3 separate regions of the Homo sapiens genome follow, and all the other regions are linked to region 1. The links are contacts of gene promoters, found by promoter capture Hi-C in blood cells and fetal thymus (Javierre and others, 2016). All regions are on one chromosome and are shown on one strand. Each heading gives the region's core, a stretch centred on a gene start or on the middle of the fragment in contact. The rest is flanking DNA. Distances are from core to core; before and after follow the strand shown.

Region 1 (4,337 bases), core at 760-3,259:
CTCAAGTGCTCCTCCCATCTCAGTATCCCAAGTAGCTGGGACTACAGGTATGTGCCACTAGGCCGGGCTCAGAGTCAGTGCTATTAACTGTTATGTGTGTTCACCACACTACCCTTGGGTGATTACAATTACAATTTGAAAGGGGGCACGAATTGTCCTCAGAAAAAGGAGGTTCTCAACCTTCAGAAACAGAGTCACAGCTACATATCATCAGTTCTTCAAATACCTAAAGGTACTGAAGCTGACCTAGTAACAGTGACTTGGGTTGTTCTGTTTGGAGTAAGCCTTTGATTGGGGGGACAGGTACAGAGCAGACAGTAAATGAAGAGTTCTAGATCAAACCATCCTAGTCCACCATGAAGCGATGCTGATCCTGAAGCAGGCTTCAATAAGAAGGCTACTCCCAACTCTGGCTAGGGCAAAACACTCACCAAAGGAAGTGAAGGCCACATTCACTGTGTTCTCTGGCTCCAGTCCCTTTCCTTTCTCTCCAACACCAAATCCACTACCTCTCAGGCCATGCTTAGTTTGGCTACTGAGACTGATATTTTTCAAAAGTGGTTTGATGGGAAGATTACAAAGGAGAGAAAAAAACTACCAGAAAAGAAAAGAGCAAGTTCCATGATCCTTTCTTTGCATCACCACACTTGTCCAACTGTAAAGTAGCTCTCAAATATTAGGGGTCTCAAGGATAGGCAGTGCGGTGCTAAACATTCCCAGAGCTTTACATCAGTCCACTTGATCTCTTACCAGAAACTGATCTACATTTTTTCTCTCTAATCCCAACCTGCCTTTCCCTCACCTCTGATACCCCCACCAAAATCCACATCCCCAGAGGAACACTAATGAGCCCTTCTTACCAAAAAAGCAAAAGTAGACACACAGCGAGAATGAATTCAGGAGTCAGTGACAGCAGGTACCTAAATGGTCAGTGAACACGATCAGAATTTGTTTTCTCGTGACTCCCCACCATCTGTCACCCACAAATCTCCACTTCCAGGCAGGACGCCAAAGTGAAGAAGTGATGGGGATATTGAAGCAGAAACAATGAGCATGTAGGAAACTGCTTGTGACAGGGATGTGTTAACATCCTTCGGCCTGGTCTCTAGGCCTCTGTCCAGGTTTACTTGCATAGGTGAAGGCACACAAGGCTTAATTCTACACCAACTCTCAAAAGTCAGCCTGCAATCTACGCCAAACACTAACTTAAGGACCTCAGACAAAGGACAAACTCTATAAAAGTGAGCCCTTTTCAGACCAAATGTTTCTTGGCATCACTCTAAGCCCATGCATCCTCCTCCCAGGGAGCATGCCAGCCAGAAACCTGTCACTGGAAGCCACCTTACCCGCTCTGGGGTTGGACTGGGGCAAGTCGCTATCTCTTCTTCTTTCCAAGTAGGCACTGTAATTTCTTCCAGTCCCTGGGGCACCTGAATCTTCAGCTGAAATTGGGGCAGATGCTGCTAACAGCTGTGGAAAGGCTGATCTAAGCCTAGAAGAGGGTCATTTGACTGGCTTTAGTTCCCTCCTTAGCAGATCTGCCCGGCATCCTCCAGATCTCTCTTCCTCACTATCCCACTCTACTAGAAAGATCCCTTTCCCCTCTGGCCGGCCAGATACAGTCGGGCCTCTATCCCACGCTCCAGGCTTCTTTATTCGCGGCTAAGAAATTTTCCTCCAACTTGTGACTCTGCTTCTCCAGGGCCTGCACAACACCTACTTCTGGCTGCCCCGCCCCCAAATCCCCCTCCCCTAGGGCTGCCACTGGACCCTAGGGCCCCGGTCCGCCCCAGCTCCTTTTTTTCCTCTCCGCCTCGGACCTTACTCCATTCCATCTCCTCTTTTCAACCCTGGAGCCAGTACCCCCTTCGCCCCTACTACAGGCTAGGGCCCCCGCAATCCTCCCCAACTCTGGCTTCCCCGCCCGACTACTCCAACCCCACAACAAACTTTCCGCCGCTGCCAGCTGCGTTCAGGCCGCCATCTTGCCGCGGGGCAGGCCGGGTAGTGGCCAGGGCCGCGGGAATCCCCACGCACTTGGCGTGTCGCGTCATCTGAGGCGGGGCCATGGGGGCGGGGCCTCGGGTTGGGGAGGTGGGACACTAGGTAGGTGATGGTGAAAAATGGGGCTCTCCTGAAAGCAGGGATTGGAGGACTGGCCACAGAAGGAAGGAGGTGTCAGGAGCAGGGCAATAGCGGGAAGCGGGGAAAGAATCCAGTACTGAAAGAAAAAAAAAAAAAAAAAGAATAGGGGAACACATCTCAAAGATACAGTGGGAGAGAGAATCGTGCTACTGGTTCCCCGTCATCCAGAGAATAAAACCAGCTTTTCAGTTTGGCATTCAAAGATCCGCATGATCCAGGCTCTTCCACCTTCATCAGCCTCATTTTTTGCCTCTCCTGGGAACTTCAGGTTCCCAAATTGTCCTTTGTTTTCAGGACATCGGGCCTTAAGATGTCTAATCTCTCTCCTCCTCCTTTGCATCATCAATTCCTCCTATTCCTTCAAACCATCAGCTAAAATGTCACCTCCCCCAGAAAGATTTCCCTTTAGTGCTCCTTTTGCTGGGCATCACTAGCAACTTGTACATAGCTTTACTGTAGCTGTCCCGTGCAGTGTAATTATTTATTTACATGTTATACCACTTTTGCCCTGCTGCTTCTTCAGGGCAAAAACTATGTTTGATTGCATCTTCATACTCCCTAGCAGGTGCTTGGCACACAATAATTGCCTAATGAATAAATGGCATGTTTTCCTCCAATGCATTAAGCATATTTCTGCCTCAGGGTCTCTAAATTTGCTATTCCCCATACCTGGAATGTTCTTCCTCCAAATATTGACTCTCATTTGTGTCTTTGCTCAAGTGTCATCACTTTAGAGAAGCCTTCCTTGGCCACTCAATCTAAATCAGCATCCCTATTCTCCTTTACCCTGCTTTAATGTTTTCATTCATAGTACTTATCATTATCTGACATTATATTAAATATTTATTGTTTATTGATCATCTCCCCACTACAAAGCAAACTCCAGAGGTCTGGGATGTTTTCTTGCTCATCACAGTATCCCCAGTGTCTAAAACAATGCCTGGCATAGTAGGTATTCAATAGATTTTTTTTATTCTGTTTGTTTAATTAATTAATTAATTTTTGAGACAGGGTCTCACTCTGTTGCCCAGGCTGGAGTGTAGTGGTGCGATCTCGGCTCACTGCAACCTCCGCCTCCCGGGTTCAAGTGATTCTCCCACCTCAGTTTCCTGTGTAGCTGGGATTACAGGCGCATGCCAGCTAATTTTTTGTATTTTTAGTAGAGATGGGAGTTCCACCATTCCACCATGTTGGCCAGGCTGGTCTCGAACTCCTGACCTCAAGTGATCCACCTGCCTCAGCCTCCCAAAGTGCTGAGATTACAGGTGTGAGCCACTGCACCGGCCAGTAAATATTTATTGAATGAATAAATGGTATGGAGGTTGGTGATTGACAGATTTTGGAATATACTGGTGGAGAAGAGGGGTTGAAAATACTATAAAATAAGAAAATGCATAGATGGAAGTTACATGACCTCAAGGCCCCACTTAGCACTAACAGGAATGGTAGCAAAGACAAGCCCCAGACTCAGCAAAGGAGAGAGTGAGATGAGGATCAGGTGGAATTCTGCAGCTGGGTCCTCAGGGAGCACAGCCATCCTAGGAAAGCCCCAGGGCACCGAGCAGGCCAGGTAGAGGAAATGAGGAAGGCTGGAGGCCAGGAGTCTCCTCAGACCTAAAGACATCATCCACCCCGAGCCCAGGCCTCTCTTGGCCAGATGGTTCCGGAGAAGCATCTGTCCCTCCATAAATTATCCAGGGCCCCCTCCAGCCTATCCTCTCTGGTGACAGCCGGAACAATTGTCCAGGAATTCCATCTGCTCCCCTGTCCCTCTCCCCTCCGCAGCTCATCAACATTTCAGAGCAGCAAGGTATCCCATTTCCCTGGGCCTAGAGATGGAGCTGGTCTGCCCCTTGGTGAAGCTGATCTCATGTACCCACCCCCCATCAACGCACACACACAAAAACCTCAGCAGAGGCTTCCAGATTCCCAGAGGGAGAGGTCAGCCATTTTTATTTCCCATCCCATCCATGCCTTTCTATCCTATATATCTTTTTAAAAATTAATTTAATAAAATTACACTAACTAAACTAGCCTGGCCAACATAGTGAAACCCCCTCTCTACTAAAAATACAAAAATTAGTTGGGCATGGTGGCATGCACTTGTAGTCCCAGCTACTCAGGAGGCTGAGGCAAGAGAATTGCTCGAACCCGGAAGGCGGAGGTTGTGGTGAGCCAAGATCGTGCCACTG
Region 2 (4,337 bases), core at 721-3,220, 280 kb after region 1:
GCTTTAGGTACACAGACTAAAAGATACATACATATTTCCTATTTTGTAGGAATACACAGAGCGCTGTCACCCAGGCTGGAGTGCAGTGGCATGATCTTGGCTCACTGTGACCTCCAACTCCTGGGCTCAAGTGATTCTCCTGCCTCAGCCTCCCAAGTAGCTGGGATTACAAGCACCTACCACCGTGCCCGGCTAATTTTTGTATTTTTAGTAAAGATGCGGTTTCACCATGTTGGCCGGGCTGGTCTCAAACTGCTGACCTCAAGTGATCTGCCTGCCTCAGCCTCCCAAAGTGCTGGGATTAAAGGCATGAGCTATTGCACCTGGCCACGTATTTCCTATTTCAATATCCCTCCACACTTCTAGGTTTTCACTTGTTTTTCAATCACAAAGGGTTTCTTCCCCAGTATCAATATCTAATGTTTCCAGGCACAAGTGTTCTGTACCATAAATTATAATTTCTCTTAAGAAGGCCTCCCTATTCTGTGAAGAGAAAGTTAAGCTTAGGCCAGGCACAGTGGCTCACGCCTCTAATCCCAGCACTTTGGGAGGCCAAGGCGGTCAGATCACGAGGTCAGGAGTTCAAAACCGGCCTGACCAACATGGTGAAACCCTGTCTCTACTAAATATACAAAAATTAGCTGGGTGTGGTGGTGCGCACCTGTAATCCCAGCTACTCAGGAGGCTGAGGCAGGAGAATTCCTTGAACCCGGGAGGCGGAGCTTGCAGTGAGCAGAGATCGTGCAACTGCATTCCAGCCTGGGCGACAGAGTGAGACTCCACCTCCAAAAAAAAACCAGTTAAGCTTAAAACAAAAAAAGAGAAAGGCTTCCCTAGATGTCATTTCAATGAGTCTTCTACTGTCCAATAATACTGGGCCAAACCTAGCCCAGATGGATATGAATCCACATATGTTTAAAGCCATTCAAGAAGGCAATTTCCAGCCAGGTGCAGTGGCTCACACCTGCAATCCCAGCACTTTGGGAGGCCGAGGCAGTGGATCTCCTGAGGTCAGGAGTTCCAGATCAGCCTGGCCAACATGGTGAAACCCTGTCTCTACTAAAAATACAAAAATTAGCCCGCTGTGGTGGCAGGTGCCTATAATCCCAGCTACACAGGAGGCTGAGGCATGAGAATTGCTTGAACCCAGGAAGCAGAGGTTACAGTGAGTCGAGATCGTGCCACTGCACTCTAGCCTGGGAAACAAGAGCAAAACTCCATCTCAAAAAAAAAAAAATGCAATTTCCTTGCACATATTCCACAGTCTCCCTCTTCTTGGTCGGGAAGTTCTACTTAAGACCTAACTTGAGCACAATGCTTGCTCATTTCCTGAAGTTTCCTTGTATCTTTCCAGTAAGGAGCTGATATGTAAACCTGGCTGGCACTGTGTGATTCCTCTGCAAAACCACCCCTCCACAATGGTACCTGCACGCTCAGGGCTGCCCGGCGGCTCTGAGTAGCGATTGAGAAGCATCATGAGGATGGTGCGTGTGGTAGGCATAGGTTCTGTTCTTGGTGCTATCCCTGAGTGCCTAAACAACGTGTCTCTCAGCTCTTGGGTTATAATCTGGTCTCCCAGAGTGTGGTGGTTGCACAAAAGTAGGTTGAGCAGGAGTAAGCCATTTCTCGCTGCAGAAGAGCACCTGGGAGGAGGGAGGTGACCAGGAAGAAACTGAGAGACCATGAATGCAATGGAAGCAGCAAAGCAAGCATAGAAGGCCGGGCAGCTAGGGAGCAAAGGGCTCCAGTGGGCCCTCTGAGCCAGGACATCTGATCCCCTGACCTTGGGCCACTCCTCCCAAACCCATAAAGGGAAGTCAGTGTGTCTCTGCCCTCTCTGGGAATCTCCCTATCCCCAATCCACTTGGGTTCTCCTCCAACAACAGTTGGCAGCGCCACCAATGCTTAATCCGGAGGTGACAGCGTGAGGGGAATTTCTGTGGAGTACATGAGCCTGGAGCACAGGAGTAGCAGGGTTTGGGACTAAGCAGGAGCCTGGAGTTGGGAAGGTAATGCCCTGACCCCTCAGTATTCAGCATCAGGATCACGGCTGCAGGGACAGTGAGGAGCAGGCTCTCAGAGCCCGGGCGTGTGGCTGAGTCGATGCTGGCGAAGATCTCTCTGGTCATCTGAGCATCAAACAAAGAGTGGATAGAATCTCGGCCAGTAACAAAAGTGGGGATCTCCGAGGAGCTGGCGACGGCCAGCATCTTCAGTGCCTGTGAGGGGGATGTGAAAGCAGAGTGAGGAGGGGGCAGAGTCACCATGAGGAAAGGTAGGCCTCATTCTAGACCTCAAACTTTGGGGCAGCTGAGCTGTTTGCAGATAGGTAGAGTAGGAGACAGAAATGGAAGAGGTAGTGATGGGACATCAAATACTACAAAGAGAGGGAAGGAGGGAGGGAGGAAGGAAAAGAAAAAAGGAAAGAAACTAAACAACAACAAAAAACTCTGAGACTGGATGGTAAAATCAGCCTTCCACTCCTCTTGGCCTCCAGGCTCGCAGCACCAAGGCTACCAGAGTGGGACAGCCGCCCCTCCTGTATCTTCCCTTCAGGATGGTGCCCCTCGCAGCATCTAGTTGTCTTCAGGGGCTTCTTACAGTTGTCTCCCATCTCACTTGCACTCCTTCCTTTGCAAAATCTCTCTTCCCTTGAGTTCCATGACTTCACATCCTCCTGGCTTTTCTCCTACCTCTCTGGTGTTCCTTTGCCCCAAGGAACTAAGGTTCCTTGTCCCCTTTCTCTGGACTCTGCACTCACCCACACTGAGGCAACCAGGTCCATTCACATTGCTTCAATTACCACCTATACACCAAGTCTCCAAAACCTGTGTCTCCTGGCCTTAGCCAGCATCCAGCCCTTCTAGATAAGACTTCTTGGTTGTCTCACAGGCAGTGGTTGGCATTATAGGAAAAATAATTGTAATGTGCAAACCTGTTTGCTGGGACTATAGAGAAAAATTAAATTAAAATAGACACTATACAATCAGAGTGGAGAATGTCTCTCCTGGTAAAAGGGTTGATTCTCTACAAGAAACCCATGAGAGATGGACTGGGCTAGAAATAATTCTCAGGACAATGCCTCTTGTAAGGCCTGGACCCTCCAAGCAACTTCTACTTCTCAATGAAGCTTTCTCCCTGTAGTTACACCACCCTCCCCTAGTTAGCTGAGTTCTGTAGACTTTAAGTTATTAACAAGATGATGTAATTTTATTTCAGGGCAAGATTTTTTTGAGATGAAGTCTCACTCTGTCGCCCAGGCTGGAGTGCAATGGCGCAATCTCAGCTCACAGCAACCTCCCGCTCCTGGGTTCAAGCGATTCTCCCGCCTCAGCCTCCCAAGTAGCTGGGATTACAAGCATGCACCACCACGCCCGGCTAATTTTGTGTTTTTAGTAGAGACAGGGTTTCACCATGTTGGCCAGGCTGGTCTCAAACTCCTCACCTCAGGTGATCCACCCGCCTTGGTCTCCCAAAGTGCTGGGATTACAGGCGTGAGCCACCACACTCAGCCATTTTTATTTTTATTTTTTTGTCATGATCTATAGTGGATGGCAATTGCTATGTTTTGGTCACGTAATTTGAGAGGATCAGGGAATTCTTTGAGCATGATGATCTGGACTATGAATGCCTGGCTGCTCTTGGTCCCATAAAGAAAAGCACCTCCCAGGCTGGGTGTGATGGCTCACACCTGTAATCCCAGCACTTTGGGAGACTGAGGCGGGCAGATCATGAGGTCAGGAGATTGAGACCATCCTGGCAAACATGGTGAAACCCCGTCTCTACTAAAAATACAAAAAATTAAGCTGGGCATGGTGGCACGTGCCTGTAATCCCAGCTACTCGGGAGGCTGAGGCGGGAGAATCGCTTGAACTCGGGAGGCAGAGGTTCCAGTGAGCCGAGATTGAGCCACTGCACTCCAGCCTGGGCTACAGAGCAAGACTCCGTCAAAGAAAAAGAAAAGAAAAGAAAAAAGAAAAAAGAAAAAAAAAGAGAAAAGAGAAGAGAAAAGAAAAGCGCCTCCTGGCCTCTCCCGGGACAGCCTGCTTTAAGAGGACACATGCTCCCGTTCATGCTGCTGCCATTATACTACTGGAATCCATTCTCAGAACTGCTCTGGCCGAAGCCTGCCTGTCTCCCTCAGGAACCCTCAGGCTACACAGAGCTCCTCTGCCCACACCACCCTACCAGCCAGCACTTCTGTCTGGAGTAACCAGGAAGCCAATTCTTCTGTAAGCTACTCTGGATAAGGGCCTTCCTTCCCGATTCTCTGGGCAATGGCAATGCTGGCTTTGTTTTACCCAAATCTAGTAACAGAGTATTTTCTATGTAAGGGT
Region 3 (4,337 bases), core at 930-3,429, 260 kb after region 1:
GGCAGGAGCAATGCTGGTGGGGCCTCACCTTACAGCAATAGTGCATGCAGCAGAGAGAGGGCAGGTCGTCGTCACACCCCAGGGGGCTCACACAGACGGGGCAGTGGTCAGGCCGTACGGGTACAGCCTGAGCCTGGTGTACGCACAGCCCAGCTGCCAGCAGCAGTGGCTCAGGGTCCTCACTGTAGCTCTGCAGCAGCTGTTCAGCGCCCCAGTGGGAATGAGCCAAAAGGTGCTGAGCGACATCTGGCTCTAAGTTCAGCGTCTCCTGCACCTGACGCACCGTCTGCTTCATCAACCCTTCTACTTCCTGGGGGCTCATGGTGCGGCCTGCAGGCAGCTGTAGAGATGCCAGGGTAGCCACAGCTTCTGGGCTTGTGGGGAGGGAAGAGACAGAAGTCAGTATTCCTGCCCTGCTATCCAGCCTACTAACTGAACCCCACCTGGCCCCCAGCTCCCTCTTTGAGCATACTTGCTCGCTTGCCTAAGCAGCCTCAGGATAACCACCCAAACCAACCGTCAGAGCAGATCCTCCACAGAAGCACCTGTAAATGTCAGGGTGGGGCTGGCTGTTGCAATGACTGGGGACAAAATAGGTATCTAGGGGTCAGGGTGCTAAGAGACCAATAGCTGATGGGACAGTCCCACTGTAGGTCTCACCCCAAATGGTGGCAGCACCTGTAGTGAGAACAGGAGTCTCCATCCTTACTGCTCAAGTGTGGTCTGTGGACCAGCAGCACAGGCAGCACAGAGAGCTCTGCTGTTAAATCTGCATTTTAACACTGGCGCCATGTTGAGGTTTGAGAAAGATTACTCGCGATAATTCACTTTACACATGATGCAAACAGCAGGCATGAAAAGCAGGGCCATAACAGCTTCCAATGAACATTAAAAAGCTTTAGGGGTGCTGGTTGATTAGAGAAATCCTATGGCAAATTCCTCTGTAGAACAAACTTCCTGAAAGTTTGTATATTTAACTGAGTAGAGTACATAGTTAGCACTCAATACATATTTGCAGGCCTCTGATTGGAAAGGGGTGGTGGTGCTGGGAGGGTCAATAAAAACTACCAAAGTCAGGGAAATAACAGGGATAGGGAAAAGGGGATCAGACAAAGAAAGAAGGGAAGTGTTTCTCCACAAGGGATCTTGGCTTTGGCATGACCACCTCTCCCGCCTCACTGCAAGGGGTCAGGTGCAGTGGCTACCTGGGCTTGGAGGTTTCGCTCTGGCTGCCACAGAAAGGGACATCTGCCTGACCCCGGCAGGGCCCCATGGGCTCTGGAGCGGCATACATCAGGATCTGGGGCCGGTCATCACGCCGTTTCACGTAGCCCTGGCCTAAGAGGTGCAGGATGCAAGAGAGGACATCTGTACTGGTACAGGCCACACCCCCAGCAACAGTGTGGCCCAGGGTTCCAGGAGGATTTGGACCCTTCTGCCAGGCCTCCAGCACCTGGATAGGAGGAAAGAAACAAGAAGTCCACTTTTATGTAGGGAGCAGGCTGCTGGGCTCAATGCCCAGCTCTGCCACTTATTTTTCCCCCCCTTTTTTTTTAAGAGACAGTCTTGCTCTGTCACCCAGGCCAGAGTGCAGTGGCCTGATCACAGCTCACTGCACCCTCAAACTCCTGGACTCAAGTAATCCTCCTGCATGAGCCATGGTGTCTGGCAGCTCTGCCACTTACTAGCTGTGTGATTGTGGATTAGTTACTAAGTTTCTCTCTTTTTTTTTTTTCCCAACAGTCTCACTCTATTGCCCAGGCTGGAGTGCAGTGGCACCATCTCTCACTGCAATCTCTGCCTCCTGGGTTCAAGTGATTCTACCGCCTCAGCCTCCCAAGTAACTGGGACTACAAGTGTGCACCACCACGCCTGGCTAATTTTTGTATTTTTAGTAGAGATGGGGTTTCATCATATTGGCCAGGCTGGTCACGAATTCCTGACCTCAAGTGATCCACCCACCTCAGCCTCCCAAAGTGCTAGGATTACAGGCATGAGCCACCGCGCCCGGCCACTACTAAGTTTCTCATACTTCACTGTTCTTATCTGTCAAATGAAATAAAATAACATTTCTAGGATTGTTGTGAAGATTAAATGATGACTTTTTTTCTTTTTGAGACAGAGTCTTGCTCTGTTGCCCAGGCTGGGGTACAGTGGCAGTCTTGGCTCACTGTAACCTCCGCCTCCTGGGTCAAGCAATTCTCATGCCTCGGCCTCCCAAGTAGCTGGGATTACAGGCATGTGCCACCATGCCCAGCTAATTTTTATATTTTTGGTAGACACAGGGTTTCGCCATGTTGGCCAGGCTGGTATCAAACTCCTGGCCTCAAGTGATCCGCCTGCCTTGGCCTCCCAAAGTGCTAGGATCACAGATATGAGCCACTGTACCTGGCTGGATTAAATGACTTAATCATGCAAACTCTTAGCATAGGGCCTGGTTCATGGTAAACACTCATGCCTTATCTTTATCTGCTGTCTATCTGCTCTGTCAGGAACAGAAAACCCAGATGGAAATGTCACCCTACAGAAGTCTTATATTGAAAGAGTTCACTGTGTTCATCCCCAATCCCAAGCATGACTCCCTCCCTCCGCCAACTTCATGGTCCCCTCTCTGCCTACCAGACAAACCAGCTGATCAATGTGGAGGCCCTTTTCCCCATGGGCTTTGAGAATACGAACAAGAAGACAGCTCAAGAGATTCCTCTTCTGTTCCAGGGTTCGGCCTTCATCCTTCTCTACGTTCAGGTATGCCTGGGGAGGTATCAGCCACAGGGCCTCCCCACTGCGCTGGGGCCCAGGCTCATGAAGCCGCAGCACACCTGGAACCCGCTCCCGGTCAGGTACCAGAGGAGGCAGAGGGACAGATGAATGGGGACTAAGATGACCCCATTCTCACAGTCCCCCCATCTTGAGGGCGACCCCCCGACCAGCAGCAGAGGCTCAGCCCGGCCCCCAATGACCTACCCCCGTGTGGAAAGTCCTGGCCCTCATGCAGGGTCAAAGGGCCATTCCCTGAGGTGAGGGGCACGAGTGCCTGGAGCAGCAGCTCTGGGGAGAGGTCAGAATCCTTCAGCAAGGTCTCTACTGACACCTCCTGATGAGCAGAAACGCCCAGTCAGGAGTCAAAGGAAAGAAAAGGAAGAGGGGAGTAAGGATGAAGGAGGAACAGGGTTTAGGAGGAGAACAGCGACAGATAAGGTAGCAGAGAAGGCAGAGAGAGGCTAAGGGCTGAAGCACCTCTGTCTGATTGAATTTCAGCAGCAGCCACATCTGCACGGTGGACACATGCAGTATCTGCTTCCCAAACTGCAGCTCAGCCCGGCCCAGCCACGTCCACTGCAGTCGCCGATGTGGTCCCATGTCCAGGACTGGATGGTTCTGACCTAGGCAAGTGTCAAGGAGAAGGGTGGAGACACAGAATGGGCGAAACAAGGGGTTTAGGGGTTGAGGTGTCAAGCTTTGCTCCTACTAGTCCCTATGGGGAGGAGGGCCCCAGCATTTTCAGACAGAGAGATACCTTGTCAAGCTTCCAGATCTCAGCCTTCCCTGCGCCTGCCTCCCTGATGAGCCACGGGTATCTAGGAGCCCATCCCTAGACCCAGCGCCTAGCCCTGAGCCAGGCAGGTTCCATGCAAAAACACCAGAGAGAAAACACTTGCATTTTGCCCTCAAGGAGCTCACAGTTTTAAAGACCCACTGGGCTGGATCTCTTCCTCCTCCTGTTTCACAGCTCAGGCAAGGTGAGCCTGAGACATCTGTTCATACTGGAAAGCAAGGAAGCTGTCAAAGGGAGAGTATTAAAGGGACTAGGAGCCTGCCTGAGAGATGCTGTCTTACCAAAGATGGGACAATTTGAGAATCCAAAAAAAAAAAAATCCACCTGCAATGTGTGATGGAACCACACAAAATATTTTAAAATCTGTGAGTTCATAATGATATATTTTTAAAAGACCTCATTGGTTTTATTTAAAAGTTACTAGAGAACCACCATATTATTTTTAAAATGAGTTAAAAATAATTGGAAGTGGAAACAATCAAGCCTTTCCTGTATAAACCGGACTTCAGGGTAGATAAACAGTTAGTGAAAGGGTTTCTCTTGAAAGCATTCCAGCTAATACATGAAGAAGGAGTGACAGAACTAGATATAACTATTTCAAAACCCCTAATGAAATGATAGACCTAAGCAATGGTAGAAATGCCTGCCTGGTGAAAAGCTGATGGAAAATTACATGTAATGTATAGACAAGACTGACACACTGAAATCCATTGATCCATCTCAACATCACAAAGGGAGACAGGCTGAACCTGCCTCCTGGTGGAAGGACACATACCACCAA

The links. Contacts are between HindIII fragments. The CHiCAGO score rates a contact against its expected background, and 5 or more counts as called.
Region 2: a contact is called between a fragment that was not itself captured here and the fragment with the promoter of TJAP1 in region 1, in 4 of 17 cell types (naive B cells, total B cells, M2 macrophages and 1 more). The highest score is 5.7, in naive B cells.
Region 3: a contact is called between a fragment that was not itself captured here and the fragment with the promoter of TJAP1 in region 1, in 2 of 17 cell types (erythroblasts and naive B cells). The highest score is 6.1, in erythroblasts.

What each region holds. Positions count from the first base shown.
Region 1 is chr6:43,475,242-43,479,578 of GRCh38, reverse strand. TJAP1 (tight junction associated protein 1) reads right to left here and starts at 2,009. Exons shown (of 11, transcript NM_001350562.2): 1 at 1,951-2,009; 2 at 1,347-1,492. RefSeq lists an enhancer at 866-1,659. The HindIII fragment of the contact is 14,243 bases long and covers 1-4,337 here.
Region 2 is chr6:43,193,951-43,198,287 of GRCh38, reverse strand. CUL9 (cullin 9) reads right to left here. Exons shown (of 41, transcript NM_015089.4): 10 at 2,023-2,219; 11 at 1,426-1,643. Among named protein-coding and RNA genes, the nearest start is that of CUL9, 14 kb to the right of the region's middle. The HindIII fragment of the contact is 2,325 bases long and covers 808-3,132 here.
Region 3 is chr6:43,212,195-43,216,531 of GRCh38, reverse strand. CUL9 (cullin 9) reads right to left here. Exons shown (of 41, transcript NM_015089.4): 27 at 3,238-3,383; 28 at 2,965-3,094; 29 at 2,620-2,819; 30 at 1,206-1,453; 31 at 29-374. Among named protein-coding and RNA genes, the nearest start is that of DNPH1, 15 kb to the left of the region's middle. The HindIII fragment of the contact is 2,561 bases long and covers 899-3,459 here.